Regions from separate parts of the Homo sapiens genome. Here all the other regions are linked to region 4. The links are contacts of gene promoters, found by promoter capture Hi-C in blood cells and fetal thymus (Javierre and others, 2016). All regions are on one chromosome and are shown on one strand. Each heading gives the region's core, a stretch centred on a gene start or on the middle of the fragment in contact. The rest is flanking DNA. Distances are from core to core; before and after follow the strand shown.

The links. The method cuts DNA at HindIII sites, captures the fragments that hold promoters and counts their contacts. A CHiCAGO score of 5 or more calls a contact.
Region 1: a contact is called between a fragment that was not itself captured here and the fragment with the promoter of PSMB1 in region 4, in 1 of 17 cell types (neutrophils). The highest score is 5.1, in neutrophils.
Region 2: a contact is called between a fragment that was not itself captured here and the fragment with the promoter of PSMB1 in region 4, in 1 of 17 cell types (neutrophils). The highest score is 5.7, in neutrophils.
Region 3: a contact is called between the fragment with the promoter of CEP43 here and the fragment with the promoter of PSMB1 in region 4, in 1 of 17 cell types (neutrophils). The highest score is 11.0, in neutrophils.
Region 5: a contact is called between a fragment that was not itself captured here and the fragment with the promoter of PSMB1 in region 4, in 1 of 17 cell types (neutrophils). The highest score is 7.0, in neutrophils.

Annotation. Positions count from the first base shown.
Region 1 is chr6:166,629,960-166,632,659 of GRCh38, reverse strand. It overlaps a transcript of RPS6KA2 not described here. Among named protein-coding and RNA genes, the nearest start is that of RPS6KA2, 4.1 kb to the right of the region's middle. The HindIII fragment of the contact is 1,324 bases long and covers 595-1,918 here.
Region 2 is chr6:166,355,175-166,357,874 of GRCh38, reverse strand. No RefSeq gene overlaps it. Among named protein-coding and RNA genes, the nearest start is that of SFT2D1, 14 kb to the right of the region's middle. The HindIII fragment of the contact is 2,192 bases long and covers 304-2,495 here.
Region 3 is chr6:166,998,025-167,000,724 of GRCh38, reverse strand. It overlaps CEP43 (centrosomal protein 43), which reads right to left and starts at 1,328. Exons shown (of 13, transcript NM_007045.4): 1 at 1,211-1,328; 2 at 612-665. The coding sequence starts at 1,312. RefSeq lists silencers at 867-956, 967-1,126, 1,217-1,736, 2,027-2,256. The HindIII fragment of the contact is 9,184 bases long and covers 1-2,700 here.
Region 4 is chr6:170,551,859-170,554,558 of GRCh38, reverse strand. PSMB1 (proteasome 20S subunit beta 1) reads left to right here and starts at 1,252. Exons shown (of 6, transcript NM_002793.4): 1 at 1,252-1,429. The coding sequence starts at 1,317. TBP (TATA-box binding protein) reads right to left here and starts at 190. Exons shown (of 8, transcript NM_003194.5): 1 at 96-190. RefSeq lists enhancers at 1-309, 1,120-1,499. The HindIII fragment of the contact is 7,721 bases long and covers 1-2,700 here.
Region 5 is chr6:166,949,497-166,952,196 of GRCh38, reverse strand. All of the region lies in intron 2 of RNASET2 (ribonuclease T2), which reads left to right. Among named protein-coding and RNA genes, the nearest start is that of RNASET2, 5.7 kb to the left of the region's middle. RefSeq lists enhancers at 597-1,282, 756-1,675, 1,796-1,845, 1,971-2,656 and silencers at 2,446-2,515, 2,222-2,516. The HindIII fragment of the contact is 6,484 bases long and covers 1-2,700 here.

The sequences.
Region 1 (2,700 bases), core at 7-2,506, 3.9 Mb after region 4:
CCAGCTTTGTTGAGGTATAATTGACAAAGAAATTTTTTTTTTTTTTTTGAGATGGAGTTTCGCTCTTGTTGCCCAGGCTGGAGTGCAATGGTATGATCTCCACTCACTGCAACTCTGCCTCCCAGGTTCAAGGGATGCTCCTGCCTTAGCCTCCCGAGTAGCTGGGATTACAGGCATGCGCCACCATGCCCGGCTAATTTTGTATTTTTAGTAGAGAAGGGGTTTCTCCATGTTGGTCAGGCTGGTCTCGAACTCCTGATCTCAGGTGATCTGCCCACCTCAGCCTCCCAAAGTGCTGGGATTATAGGCGTGAGCTACCCCGTGCAGCCAAAAGTTGCATAATTTAAGGGACACCCCATGGTGTTTGCTGTAGGTATACCTCATGTAAGGGTTCCCACAATCAAGCTAATGAACACACCCATCATCTCACATAGCTACCTGCGGGCAACACAGGTGGGCCTGGGGACATCATACTAAGTGGAATAAGCCAGACATGGGGAGACAAATGTCCATGATCTCACTTATCTGTGGAGTCTAAAAACTCCCCAGGGCTGGGGGTGGGGAAGGGCGATGTTGCTCAAAGGGTACAAAGCTTCAGCTATGAGGCAGACAGGTCCTGGAGGTTGAAGGCACCGCATGGCAGCTGGAGTTAGTATCCTGGAAATGTGCGGAGAGGAGCGCTGTCCCCACCGCCTCTCTGTCTGAATTTCATCTCTCTCATGTGGTGTTTGATTTAGGTCTTTTCGAGGCATTTACACCTTAGCTGATACTGGTGCTGCCCTGAGGTGCCACCTGTCTGGGCTCCGTTTGCCGCGCAGCCTCTCTCTGGTCTGTCTCTGCTCCGCTGTGTCTATGACTGCTCTGTGTGTTCGCATCTATCTCTTGGGTTCCACTGTCTCAAAGAGAAAAAGGGCTCACTGAGGCAGGGCCCTCCCTTCTCGCTGTTTGGGAGTCATGACTCCAGCCGTGCTCCGCTGACACCATGGAAGGCACCAGAGTGCCCCAGGCAGAGGGACGAAAAAAAATCTGTGTTACCAGGAAAGTTATTTGATCAGCCTCTCTGTAGATTCTGGCCCTATGGTTTATAAATGGGTTTCAAAAGAAAGTGGTATGAAGGAACATAGTATTTAAAAACCAATAAAATCCAAAGCTGTCCTCACAGCGGGCTGGCGGGGGAGGTGTTGCAGGTGAAGCCCACCTTCTGTGAGCCCTGTGCCTTCCTACCCAGGTTGGATGGGGGATGAGGGCTCCAGCGGGGAGGGAGGAAGCCAACCATGATGGTTTCCACAGCTTGAAACCCAATGTGGTTTTTCTTCCTAAATGTAAGCCAGTCAATAAGGGTCAAGTACAACTGGCCTGTGGGTTTCCACCTGCCTCTCCTGACTACTCAGAAACCAGGCCCTCTGGTTTCAAATGTAAATTCCATTTCCTGGTACTTCACCATTAGAGCTTTATTTCTGTCATTTTGAAGACTTTTACGCATTAAGACTTTCTTTTTAAATTTTCGATATGCTCAGAGATTTTAAACTGTTAAACTGAGGGCACAGGTGTCATTCTGACATGGCTTGGTTGGCACCCAGATGTGAATGAGACCCAAGTGTCCTGTGGGTGAGGGCCAGGGGCCAGCCAGAGACCAGAGGCAAACTTGATCCCTTCTGACTTTTGCCGAGGGCCCAAGAAGCCCTTCCCTGACAGCTCCAGGCCCCTTGCTGACACCTGCTCCGAACGTGCCCCCACCTGAACTGTCCACTACAGTTTACCTTCTAGGGTCTCAGGACTTTAAGACCATCTTCCTGAGCAAGGACTAATTCCTACATTCAAGAAACTTCAAAGTCATAAACATTTCAAGTACACGGGGATCCACAGCCCAGGAAAAGGATTCCTTTCTGTACACTCAGGGACTACACTAAGGGAAGCTTGACTAAACCCATTTGTATCACAGCCACAGGAAGTAGTTCACAGGGGCACACACTGAAGCCCACCTCCCTCCCTCGTACTGGCTGGACACTGTCTCTGGAGCATCCAGCAGGATGCCTGTGATGGGCAGAGCCTTCGAATGCTGATACTCCGGAAAAGCACGACTTCCTGCTTTCGCAGATGGCCAGCACCAGGTGACCCTGGTGATCCTGGTGAAGTTTTGCATCAGGTGAACCTAGTGAATTCACCTCCCATGGCAAAACTTTAGTCCTAATGAAGACCGAATGTTTCAATTTATTTTAAAGATATATAGTTTCACTTGAAGTGCAATTTAGCGTTTTATTGAAAATATGTGGGAGTTTTAGAAGCTTGAAACTTTCAGCAGCCTGTAGGACTGTTTGGAGACGAACAGACATTTGTGGTACTTGACTAATTAGAAGCTCTTGGATGTCACTCAAGCCACTCCTGTGGGGTGCCCCGAGAATGTGGCATCTTCCCATATGCAGAGAGCACACCAGCCTTACCCACAAGGTGCCTGTGTAGCAGGGAGAGATGGGAAACCTTGTCACAGCTGCCTGACAGTGCCCTGTTATTCCTCAGCCTGGGACTCCCGCCTCCTCTTGTCTGTCCAGGAAACTTATTCCCTCATCTTCTTACCCTCAGGGGTTCAGAGCAAAGGCCATCTCCTCCTTGACTTCGCCAATTAGAATTGGCTTCTCATTCATCTCTTACGCATTTCTTTCACTTTACATAAAAACGGCATGAGCTTTGTCTGTTCACTCA
Region 2 (2,700 bases), core at 150-2,649, 4.2 Mb after region 4:
GAAAGCCCAGACTTCACCACTATCCAAAATATCCATGTCACAAAACTGCACTTGTACCTCCTGAATCTATAAAAATAAAAATTAAAAGTTAAAAAGGAAGGAATTGGTGTAATAGCTATTTCAGTAGTGATAAATTATTTTGAATGTTTTCTGTTTTGAGCATAACAGACTCCTGAATTTTCATAGATTTAATGGGTTTCTATCAACTATGATACTATTCTCTTTCGCTCAAATGTCCTACCTTTGGCCACTGGGAGCCCTTTAATGGTGACCTTTTGATACAATCCCATCAATCTGAAAGCTTTCGTGTTTGCTGGTACAAGATTCTCCTGCTCACCCTGTCTTTTCCTTGTCCCCAACATGGAAGGAAGAGACATTTCTCCAAGGAGTTCTGGCTGCGTTTATGAGGAGTGGTGTTTGTAGCCAAAAGATGGACTCTTGGCACACTTACGCTATTAGGCGGACATTGCTTTTTGGCCATTTCAGTGGTCAGTGCTAGAAAGGTGTCTTTTTTAAAATCACAAGTTCATATTGATATTTACACTTCAACTCTAGTATTGTATTTCTACTTAATTTACTTGATTTTATAATTGAATCTCTTTTATACTGAATAGCATTATTTCTGATCACATAAATATTCTCTACTTACTTGCTTTAACAATATAGTTTCACAATAACAATACCATTATTAACACAAACAGTGAAACTACTAAATACAATTTCAAAATTTTATTTACAGTTTTTGTCTTTAGAATCCATGTCCTAAGCATGTGTGTTCCAAGTAATAATGGTTCTAAATTCACTTGAAATTACCTTTTACTGTGTGTTATGTAAGCACCTATCCAATGTAGACTTTAATGCAATTGTTAGTTTTTATTTTCAGTGTAAAGTTTCTGCTTTCTAGCAGCTGCTAGTTCTTAGAAGGCTAGTCCTGTTAGGTACAGGAGGTGGGAGGTCAGTCTACCACGAACTTCGAGACAATCTACCGTCAGAGCAATTGGGTCTAAATGCTTCCATTCTTCATCATTTAGTCTGTCTACACCAATGAGTTCTGGATAAACAAATCAATTTCTGCCTTCTCCTTTTTAACTCTTTTTTTTTTTTTTTCGAGACAAGGTCTTGCTCTGTGGCCCAGGCTGGAGCATAGTGGCGCAAACACAGCTCACTGCAGCCTCAAACTCCTGGGCTCAAGAATGTTCCCATCTCAGCCTCCCAAGTCACTGGGACTACAGATGCATGCCATCACGCCCAGCTCATTTAAAAAATTTTTGGAGAGATGCATGTCTCACTATGTTCCCCAGGCTGGTCTTGAACCCCTGGGCTAGCTAAAGTAATTCTTCCACCATGGCCTCCCACGGTATTGGGATTACAGATGTGAGCCACCATGCCTGGCCAGCCTTTTACTATTTAATTTCAAGTGCTATTAGAACCTAGATATTTTAACTTTTTAATCTTGTCCTGAAAGATCATCCTGTGAAGGTTTTATTCTGTGCCCTTTTTGAGTGATAACTTTTCTCTTTAAATAAAAATAATCATATCCAACCTATCTAAATAGCATGCTATGTATTTTCTCATTATGGCTTATACTGTATACATTCAAATAACTGTCAGTTAACATTCTCTTGACTTTATTCGAGTCAGTGTTTAATTTTTCCTATAGAGGGGCTTTAAGGAGATAGATGATGTTTTAAGATTCCACATGATGAGCAGAGGTGAAAAATATAAACGCAGCTCTTAAGGGTTTTGTCTGAAACCTCTTCACTTGTAAGTCAAAATGCAGACTTTGCTTTTTGTATGTGTTTTCTAGTACAACTAAATACCCTTCAGATAACTCACCTACCTCAAACCTTTTAGTGATTACAGTTATTTACTTAAAAAGACAAAACAAAAAAAGCCTAGGAGTTCTGCATGACTAAATGTGCTTAGTTTGCAACAGCAACACCATCGCTGAAGCATGAGTTTTGCAAGTTGGGTGAGGGTTAACACAGCCCAGCTGGATGCAGCACGCGTGGCACAGGGTGCCATTGCAGTGCCTGTGATTCTGGCTGGGAGAGATGAAGTGAGGGCACAGGGCGGGCCACTTCACAGAGGAGGACATGGGCTCTAGTGGCCCACCCCAGGCAGATGGTGTCTCTGGCTCCCCATGTGTCCAATGCACTTCTTACTCCATAGGGAACACACAGCCATCCAGATGCAATAAGGACTGTTCAGCAGATCCAGTTTTTACGCTTTCCTTCATTTAAAGTCAGCCACATTTATACTTTCTTCTAAAAGCACTTCTAATCAAGAATTATAATGTCATAATTTTTTACTATAAATTAGCATAAATTTCAAGTAAGTTGCTACTTAGAGCAAAAAGTGACTCCTTAAAAACAATTAGGGCACATTAGCCAATTGGGGGATGGGGAATGAATCAGGCAGTTACTTTTTCTAGACAAATGCTATGAAATCTCTCTAAGTCGACAAGATCAACTCTCAGTTGAACAAAGCAAGCTTACAGCATTTTAAAAATAGTCTGAAAAATGTATGAACATATGAGGGAAAACTCTGCAAATTTTGTTTAAAATTTAAAAGGCTTCCTTTCTATTTAGAAGACAGAATTACACAAGACCTCATAGAGAGGTGTATATTTTCTGATGTTGGCATGAGCTGCCTGAGACCAGCTACAACTGCGCAGGTGCGTCTCCCATCAGCCCCCGG
Region 3 (2,700 bases), core at 79-2,578, 3.6 Mb after region 4:
AGAGATTAGGTATACAGGTCTAAAGAAGTGAGAGGACAGTAGACTGATTTGTCATACAGCAAGAGTTTAAGGCTTTGATGATGGTTCTATTCTTGTTGACAAATTCCAGAATATTTACTCAGGATGGTTGGTGGGACTCCGAAAAAGTTAAATTACCCACTTAAATATAGAGTAGTGGCTGCACTTTTAAAATAATCGCTGTCTTTTTCATTGTCAAAATAATTGAGTGGTCAGATAATTTTGGGAAAAGTTGCATACTATATACCCCGTTTCATAGGGATTAATAACATATTAGCTTACTAAAGGATCTGAGTGAACCTGCACTTAACACATTGACAATGGCACCATTTCTTCAAGAAACTCCTATGACCATTTGTTTCAGATTAAGCATTAGTATCAGAGTTACTGTGGTACCTTAAGATTACCCCCAAATTCAAAAGCTACACGAAAAAAGAATAATTTTGGCTCTCTCTCAATAGTAATGTAATCCTTAACAGTTCAAAATTATCCCTAGCTATATGTTACTATAAACTATTTTTAAGACGGTTTTTAATGAATAAGAAATTAAGTATTAACGAATACAGCCATGTTAAAATCTGGAAACTTCATACCTCTACTTTTTCTTGCTCCTCTAGTGCTAAAAACACAGCTGCTCGGAGTTCAGCCTTAAAAAAAAGTTAAGAAACAGGAAATTATAATTTCAAGACAATTTTCACAACAAGCTCACATTTATCCAGCAACAAACACGAGCAAGCCAACGAGCTGGGAGGGCAGGTGCAAAGGTCAGAAACGCCTTCCGAAACGTTCTCAGTCACACAAGCTCTCCGACCCCCAGGCTTCGGCTGGACGCGCTGCTTTCCCGCCGCGGATCATGCCCGAGCCTGAGGAAGAGACGCTGGGGCCGCACTCCAGGGCCCAGCTGCGGGCCGCCCGTGTGGCCCCCAAGCCCCGCGGTCCCGCCCCCACGGAATGAGGCAGGGGATGGGCCAGGCACCCCCAGTCCGCGGTGCCCTCCGGGACCACACGAACGAACGAGCCGACCCCCTCTGTGGGGCGGGCAGGACGGAGGCCATGCCGGGGCGCGCCCCCAGTGCCCGCCGGCCCCGGTCCCTCGCCAGGGAGGCGGCCTCCTCGCCGCGACCGTTGTGACGCCCGCTGTCCACGCAAGCCCTGCGGATCCGCCAGGCCCGGCCCCAGCCTCCGGCCTCACCTTGATGCGGTTCAGGACCCCGCTGTTCTCCAGCGTCTGCACCAGCAGGTCCCGCAGCTCCGTGTCCTCCTCGGCCACCACTGCGGCCGCCGTCGCCGCCATCTTGCTTCTCCAAGACAACCGCCGAAGCCGCGCTAACGGCCAACGGCCGCAGCAGGGTACGCTCCGCGCGCGGGCTACGCGGCCGACGCAGCCAAAGCCCCGCCCCGACGCGCAGCGCGCTGGCCCTGCCCCCTGGCGTCGGGAGGCGGGGCATAGAGACCTCGGGGTTGACGCTGGACACCGAGCCTTGGGGAGCGCCGGACCACTGAGCGCCGAAACTTAGGGTCGGCGCTGGGGGCGGGGCTGCGGGGCGCGGGTGGGCACGCAAGGGGCGGGGCGTCGGCGGGGCCTCCAGCCGGCAACCCGTTGGCTGCCGTCGCCTGAGGCGCGAGCTTTGAAGCCGGCGAGCGGTGAGGAGGAGGCGCCCTCGCGTGTGGAGAGCGGACTCCGCCTGGACTCCACCGCCCACGGCCGCATCCCATCGCCGCACAAGATCGCCGGAGTCATATTATCGACGTAGTTAAAGCCCACTAGCCTAAAGCCGGGCGGACTGCGGTAAGGAGGCCCCGAGACCGAACCTGCAGCCCCTGCAGCCCCGGGGGGGCGCCGGGGAAGGGACTCCCGAGAGGTCGCGAGGGGCGGAAGGCCCTGCAGGTTGTCACCCGGAAATAACGTTCTGAGGCCCCCCAGCCAGGCGAACGCACCCTGCTCGGCCACGGCCTCCGAGGCTAACCGGAAAGGTGCCAGGCCGAGGTGCAGGGGCGGGATGGCCCCAGGAAGAGCCGAGGGCCGAGGAGGGCGTTGGGTGGGCTCCGCGCTGCCCGAACTGGGGCCGCAGTCTCCACTCCCTCCTGCCCCGCGGCCCTCCGCCGACAGCCAGGCGCCGGCGGGGAGTCCTGGACCCCTCCCGGGCCCTGGAAGCCCCGTCCCGCCGGAGCTGACGCGCCCTCTTGGTATCCATCCGGCCGCCTGGGCTGCCCCTCGCCCCTCGCCTTGGCAAAACCAGCCCCCGGACCGAGCCCTGCCTTGGAGAGTGTGGGTGCGCAAGGCCAGCCGAGCTGTCGGTTCCGGGGTTTCGGGGTGCGCCACTGTATGGCGGCGTAAGCCGAGAAGTGTCCGAGGCCGGGCTCCAGCAGTTGAGAGGCTGATTTGGCCACGGTGAAGGACGCGCCCGGAGGAAGGAAACGGGAATCCGAAACGGGCGGTGGCCGCGCCTTTCCCGAGGCCGGCGTCGAGGGCTTCAGCGCCTCAGGGTGGGCGGGAGGGGAAGGTCGTGCGACCCGCGTGGCCGGCGGAAAGGAGCAGCGGGAGCCGCGGCCGTAGGGAAGCCACGGGAAGACGGGCGGCTGCGCTGCGATGCGCGGCCCTCTCCCTGAAGCCCTCGGCTCAGGCGCCACAGGAAAGGCTCCTTCGGGCAGGCCTCAGCTTTCAGCTTAAGTTTTTTTCCT
Region 4 (2,700 bases), core at 3-2,502:
GCGCCAATTCCTAGTCTCTTCCCCACCATTGCCCCCAGGCCTCAGTGCAGTGGTGGCCTTCGCCCGAACCGTCAGAAAAGAGTACAATCTGTTACCTGGGTCACTGCAAAGATCACTATGGGCCAGCGGAAGCGAAGTTAAACAGCCGGCGGCCCAGGCGCCCGCCACAGCGAACCTGCCCGACCTCACTGAACCCCTGGCGCGCGTTGATAATGTCACTTCCGCCAGTTCTGCCCTCGGCTTCAGCGAGTTGCTCCCACTAGGGCCGAGGCCATGAGAAGTGTGAGCATAGGTCACTTCCTGTGTTTCCATAGGTAAGGAGGGGCGAAGCTCTTGAGGAGTTCCGGGGCGGGGCCGCCGTGCCACAGCCATCTCTAATTGGCCCTTGCTGGACGTAGGAAAGATCGATTTTTAAATGGCGTGTGTGTGTATATGTGTGAGTGTGTTTTGTTGTTGTTGTTGTTGTTGTTTAAAGCAACTAGCGGCGTTACCTTCGACAAGTTACCTGACCTCTCCCCCGCATTTTTTTTCTGTAAAATTGAATAATGATAACAGTGCTTACCCTTGGGCTGTCGGGAGATTGACAGAGATTGACAGAATCAGTGCCTGAGCAGTGCTTGGCACTCAGTAAGCGCGTCCTCCTTACCTGTCAGCAAGAACGCTAGCTGATCTTCAAGCGTGTAGAATGACAAGGAACACTAAGCAAAACAAACAGCTTGTGTTTACACATGCATTTATATTCAGTTCTGCCACTCCCAGTTCATGCACTGTTGTCACATGGCTCTTTCCGCAGTTGTTTCTTAGTGGGACTTCAGCACGCCTTGATTTTCCCTTCTGTAGTTCATTGTGGCGTAATCATATGTTATACTGCTTGTTTTCTTTGTACTTTTTATTATCAGTGAGGTTGTGAGCTCTTTAAGGATAGGAAATGTTATATACATTTTTTATTAGCCAGGACAATTAACGTTCCCACCGTTATTCGAGTTGCCGTTGCGCCATAGTTCTGACAATTTTTTTGTATGGTCAGACTTAAATTTTTGTCCATTGGGGTGAATTCCAATGTTTTCTTCGAGGGGGAAAAAAACAAAAAACAAACAAAAAAAACCCTTTACATCCCTGTCAGCGCTTTTTGGAATGGGCGGGATTCAACTACCAAAGGGACAAGCCGCCGTGCAGCCCTCCAGGAGCAACGACTAGCGTGAGATAGAGAGGCCGGGAGCGAACTTCAGGAGAAGCCGGAAGTGGCGTAACGTCCGGTCAAGGCAGCCATCTCGCCGTGAGACAGCAAGTGTCGGATCCGCAGGCGCAGCCGTGCGATGTTGTCCTCTACAGCCATGTATTCGGCTCCTGGCAGAGACTTGGGGATGGAACCGCACAGAGCCGCGGGCCCTTTGCAGCTGCGATTTTCGCCCTACGTTTTCAACGGAGGGTAAAAACCCCAGAGAGCTGCGGCTTTCACTTTCGCCCTTCCCCCATCTGCTGAAGCCTATTTAGGAGTCACCGCCGTGATGGCGCTGCCCCGGGCTCCTGCAGGCCTCAGAACCCTGAGCTGAGGGGGTCCGCACAAGGCCGGTCTCCCTGCCGTCCTCTCATGCCCTGTGTTTCCCTCTTCAGGCTCGCTTTGCTCAAGTTTACTTGGTGATTGCGATACAGCCTTGGTTTTTAGGGTTTCCCATTACAGTCATGTCATTTGAGTTTTTATGTGGACCGCCACTCCGTGCTCCTTGCTGCTGTAAGACAGTAAAGTAGAAATTGAAACATAGCCTCTGCTCTGTGGAAGACCATTAAAACTGGACCTCATGTACACGTTTCTTATGCCAGCCGGCGAGGGTAGAGGGTTAGCGTCTGAAACTTAAAAGTTAGGGTTGTTTGGTCTGTGTTGTTAGATGCATAGCTGGGTTGGTAGCCGAGATGTCTAATTGTAGCCGCCTGATTTCTGTTATTTCTAATTGTAGCAGTTTAATCATTTTGTTTTATTTCAAATAGAAGGTGGGATTGGCTGAGCAAACTTAGTTTCATAGATAAGTGCTTTTTTTTTTTAACGTTTAGCTTAAGTTCAGGAAAACAAAATACTCAGAAGATGGACCTTTTAGTATGTGTGTTCTTGTATGTTATGTTCAAGTTTTGGTTTTTATTTTAATTACCAGCTTTATCTTGAGTAGTATAATTTTCCGTGGTGGCACGCCAGAGATTTAGGGTTATAGAAAGATGCTCTGTTTAAGACTCTTGACAGGGAAGAGCTGTAAATTGAAACAGTGGTTATAGTTACCAATCAAGCCTTGTACATTAAAATATACACACGCAATTTGAACGAACCGATGGTTCTTAAAACAGAAAATATTGGCTGGGCAGTGTGGCTCGCACCTGTAATCCCAGGACTTTGGGAAGCCAAGGCAGGAGGATCATCGCTTGAGGCCAGGAGTTGAAGACCAGCCTGCGCAGCATAGCAAGACCCCATCTCTACAAAAATAAATTTTAAAAACAAAGCAAAAATGTTAATTGGTTCCTCATAAATTTGAAATATAAATGCACATTTTGGGAGTGTGTTAGAAAGATAACGAAAGTCTGATTTTAGCCTTGGTTCTGCCACTAAAGGACACTTTGGGTACTTCTGAACTTCTTGAACCTAAATTTCCTTATCTTCCTTAGTAGCTTCATAGTTTTTGGTGAGAATCAAGAGAGATGCATTTTGTAAATTGC
Region 5 (2,700 bases), core at 201-2,700, 3.6 Mb after region 4:
TGGAAGGCTCTGAGAGAGTTTGTTCTGTTTCTCTGCTAGCTTCTAGTAAGGACCCGTGGTCCTCTGCGTTCCTGGGCTGACCCATCACCCCAATCTCTGCCTTCTCCTTCACGGTGTGTTCTCCACTTTGTGTCTCTCTGTCTCTTCTGATGAGGACACCAGTAATTGGATTTAGGGCCCACCCTAATCTGGTATCACCTTTTCTTGATGACATCTGCAAAGACCCTGTGTCCATGTAGGGTCATGTTCACAGATGGGAGGAGGGGTTAGGACAGGGATATATCTTCTGGGAGGACACGGTTCAACCCACAGCAAGCCTCAGTTTGTCTCCTCCCTCTGTGGGCGGCAAGCCACCCAGGTGCCAAGGCAAGAGACCGAGGGCATAAGCTGTTCCAGTATAATAAAGAAAATATATAAAATGAGAACAGTTATACTAGAAATAGATTATAGATATGATGATATATGAATATTATTAATCATCAGTTTGTAGCATTGCTCTTTATTCCAATATTATAATAATCCTTGCTCTACAATTACAGCCTAGGAAAAACCAGGCCATACAGAGATAGGAGCTGAAGGGGCACGGTGAGAAGTGACCAGAAGACAAGTGTGAGCCTCTGTCACGCCCGGACAGGGCCACTAGAGGGCTCTTTGGTCTAGTGGTAACACCAGTGCCTGGGAAGGCAACCATTACTTAGCTGACCTCGGTCTAGTGGTAGCGTCAGTGCCTAGGGAAGGCACCCGTTACTCAGCAGACTGGGAAAGGGAGTTAGAGCAGACTCTGCTTCACCATACCTCTTGTGGATAGGCCTCATATCAGTCAGGCCTGCCCACAGCCATCTGGAGGCCTAACCATCTCCCCGTGATGCTGTGCTTCAGCAGTCACACTGCTGTTTCACTTTCATGTTCCACCCAGTACACCTGGCTCTGCCTTCTAGATAGCAGTAGCAGAATTAGTGAAAGTACTAAAAGTCTTTGAAATGCATAGAAGAAATAATGGCGTAAGCTGGCCTCTCTCTCTCTCCGCCTCCGCTGCCATACAGGGAAGGGCCCTCTGTCCAGTGGACACGTGACTCACGTGACCTTATCAGTCATTGGAGATGACTCACACTCCTTACCCTGCCCCTTTTGCCTTGTATCCAATAAACAACAGTGCAGCCAGGCATTCGGGGCCACTACTGGTCTCCGCGTCTTGGTGGTAGTGGTCCCCTGGGCCCAGCTGTCTTTTCTTCTGTCTCTTTGTCTTGTGTCTTTATTTCTACAATCTCTCGTCTCCACACGAGGAGAAAAACCCACAGTCCCTGTAGGGCTGGTCCCTACATCCCTCCATGTATTGGACATTTTATTAACATGTCCTGTGAGTGAAGAGGACCCAAGAGCTTCCCTGCCTCCTTTGCTGTGCTTGGCACCCATGGCACTCACGGCCCTCCGGGCTGGCCCCTCATCATCTGGCTGCGTTTTGCTCCATGCCCACATCCCTTCAGTGCGTCAGTGTCCAGGCCCTTCTCATTGGAGCACCCAGAGCCAGGACACTGCCTGGATCTGCACCTCAGGGCGTACCCTGCTCGGTGTGTCAAGCTGACCCTGGTGTGCATTGCACACTTCTCAAGTGTTTGACCGTGTTGCTGAGCTAGCACCACATTCTGTCAGGAGCACGCAGGCTTTATGTTTTGCCTCTAGCACTGAGTGGTAGTGACTTTCGCTTCTACTTCCTCACTGATTTTTCTGATGACAAACGAAAATGAAATTTTGCTTATCTGGCTCAAATTATGCTCTTGCTCACTTCTGTACACGAGATTGCCCCGTTTTCAGTTTTGCAGACTTAATGTTGCGCTCCTGCTGCTGTTTCCTTGCCTTGGGTTGGGGCAGTGGACAGAAGGAGCCGGAAGCTGCCTGGCATCAACTTTCAATTGTTGGGAGTGTAGCTGGCATTCTGAGATAGGGAGGGATTGCTGGAGTCCTTGGTTCCTACGGAAGAAGGACCGTGGAGGAGGAGCTGGAACTTAAGCACTGTCTTTGACCCACACTGAAGGATCTGCCTCCAGGGCCTGAGACCAGGCTGCTCTGCATTCAGGGAGGCATTTACATGACAAAACGTGGGTGTGTCCCTGCACACTGAATGTAAATATGGGTGGAGGCACATCTTTGCCTTGAGGCTTTAGAAACAAGATTTAAAAAAAAATCTGTAGCAAAATGTCCTTGTTAAGGAGTGTATTTCCTACTGGGCAGCCATGGTGAAGGGTTCTGTTTGAGCCCAGGTGTCCTCCTAGGCAGTGAGGGCTGTCCCTGGTGCCCCCTCTGATGAGATGCTTGTGTCAAAGATGCTCAGTCTGCCTGTCGGGTTCTCAGTGTTCTGGGCTCTCCCACAGCTCCATGCAGGCAGGCCTGGGAACTGAGTGCTGTGCAGAGCCCTCAGAGCCCCGTGTGGTGCAGGCTTTGCTCTCTGCATTGCCTCCAGGAAAGGAGCCCAGCTTCTGGCTTTGAACTGGGTTCCCTGAGGGATAGAGTTGAGTGGCAGAGGTGAAGTTACAGGTTTTGGCCTCTGACCCTCTTTCTCCAGCACTGAGCAGTAAGGACTTTCTGTTCTACTTCCTCAACTGATTTTTCTGTTGACAAATGAAAATGCAGTTTCACTTATCTGGCTCAGATTATGCCCTTGATCATTTCTTTCTTTTTTTTTTTTTTTTTTTTTTTTTGAGA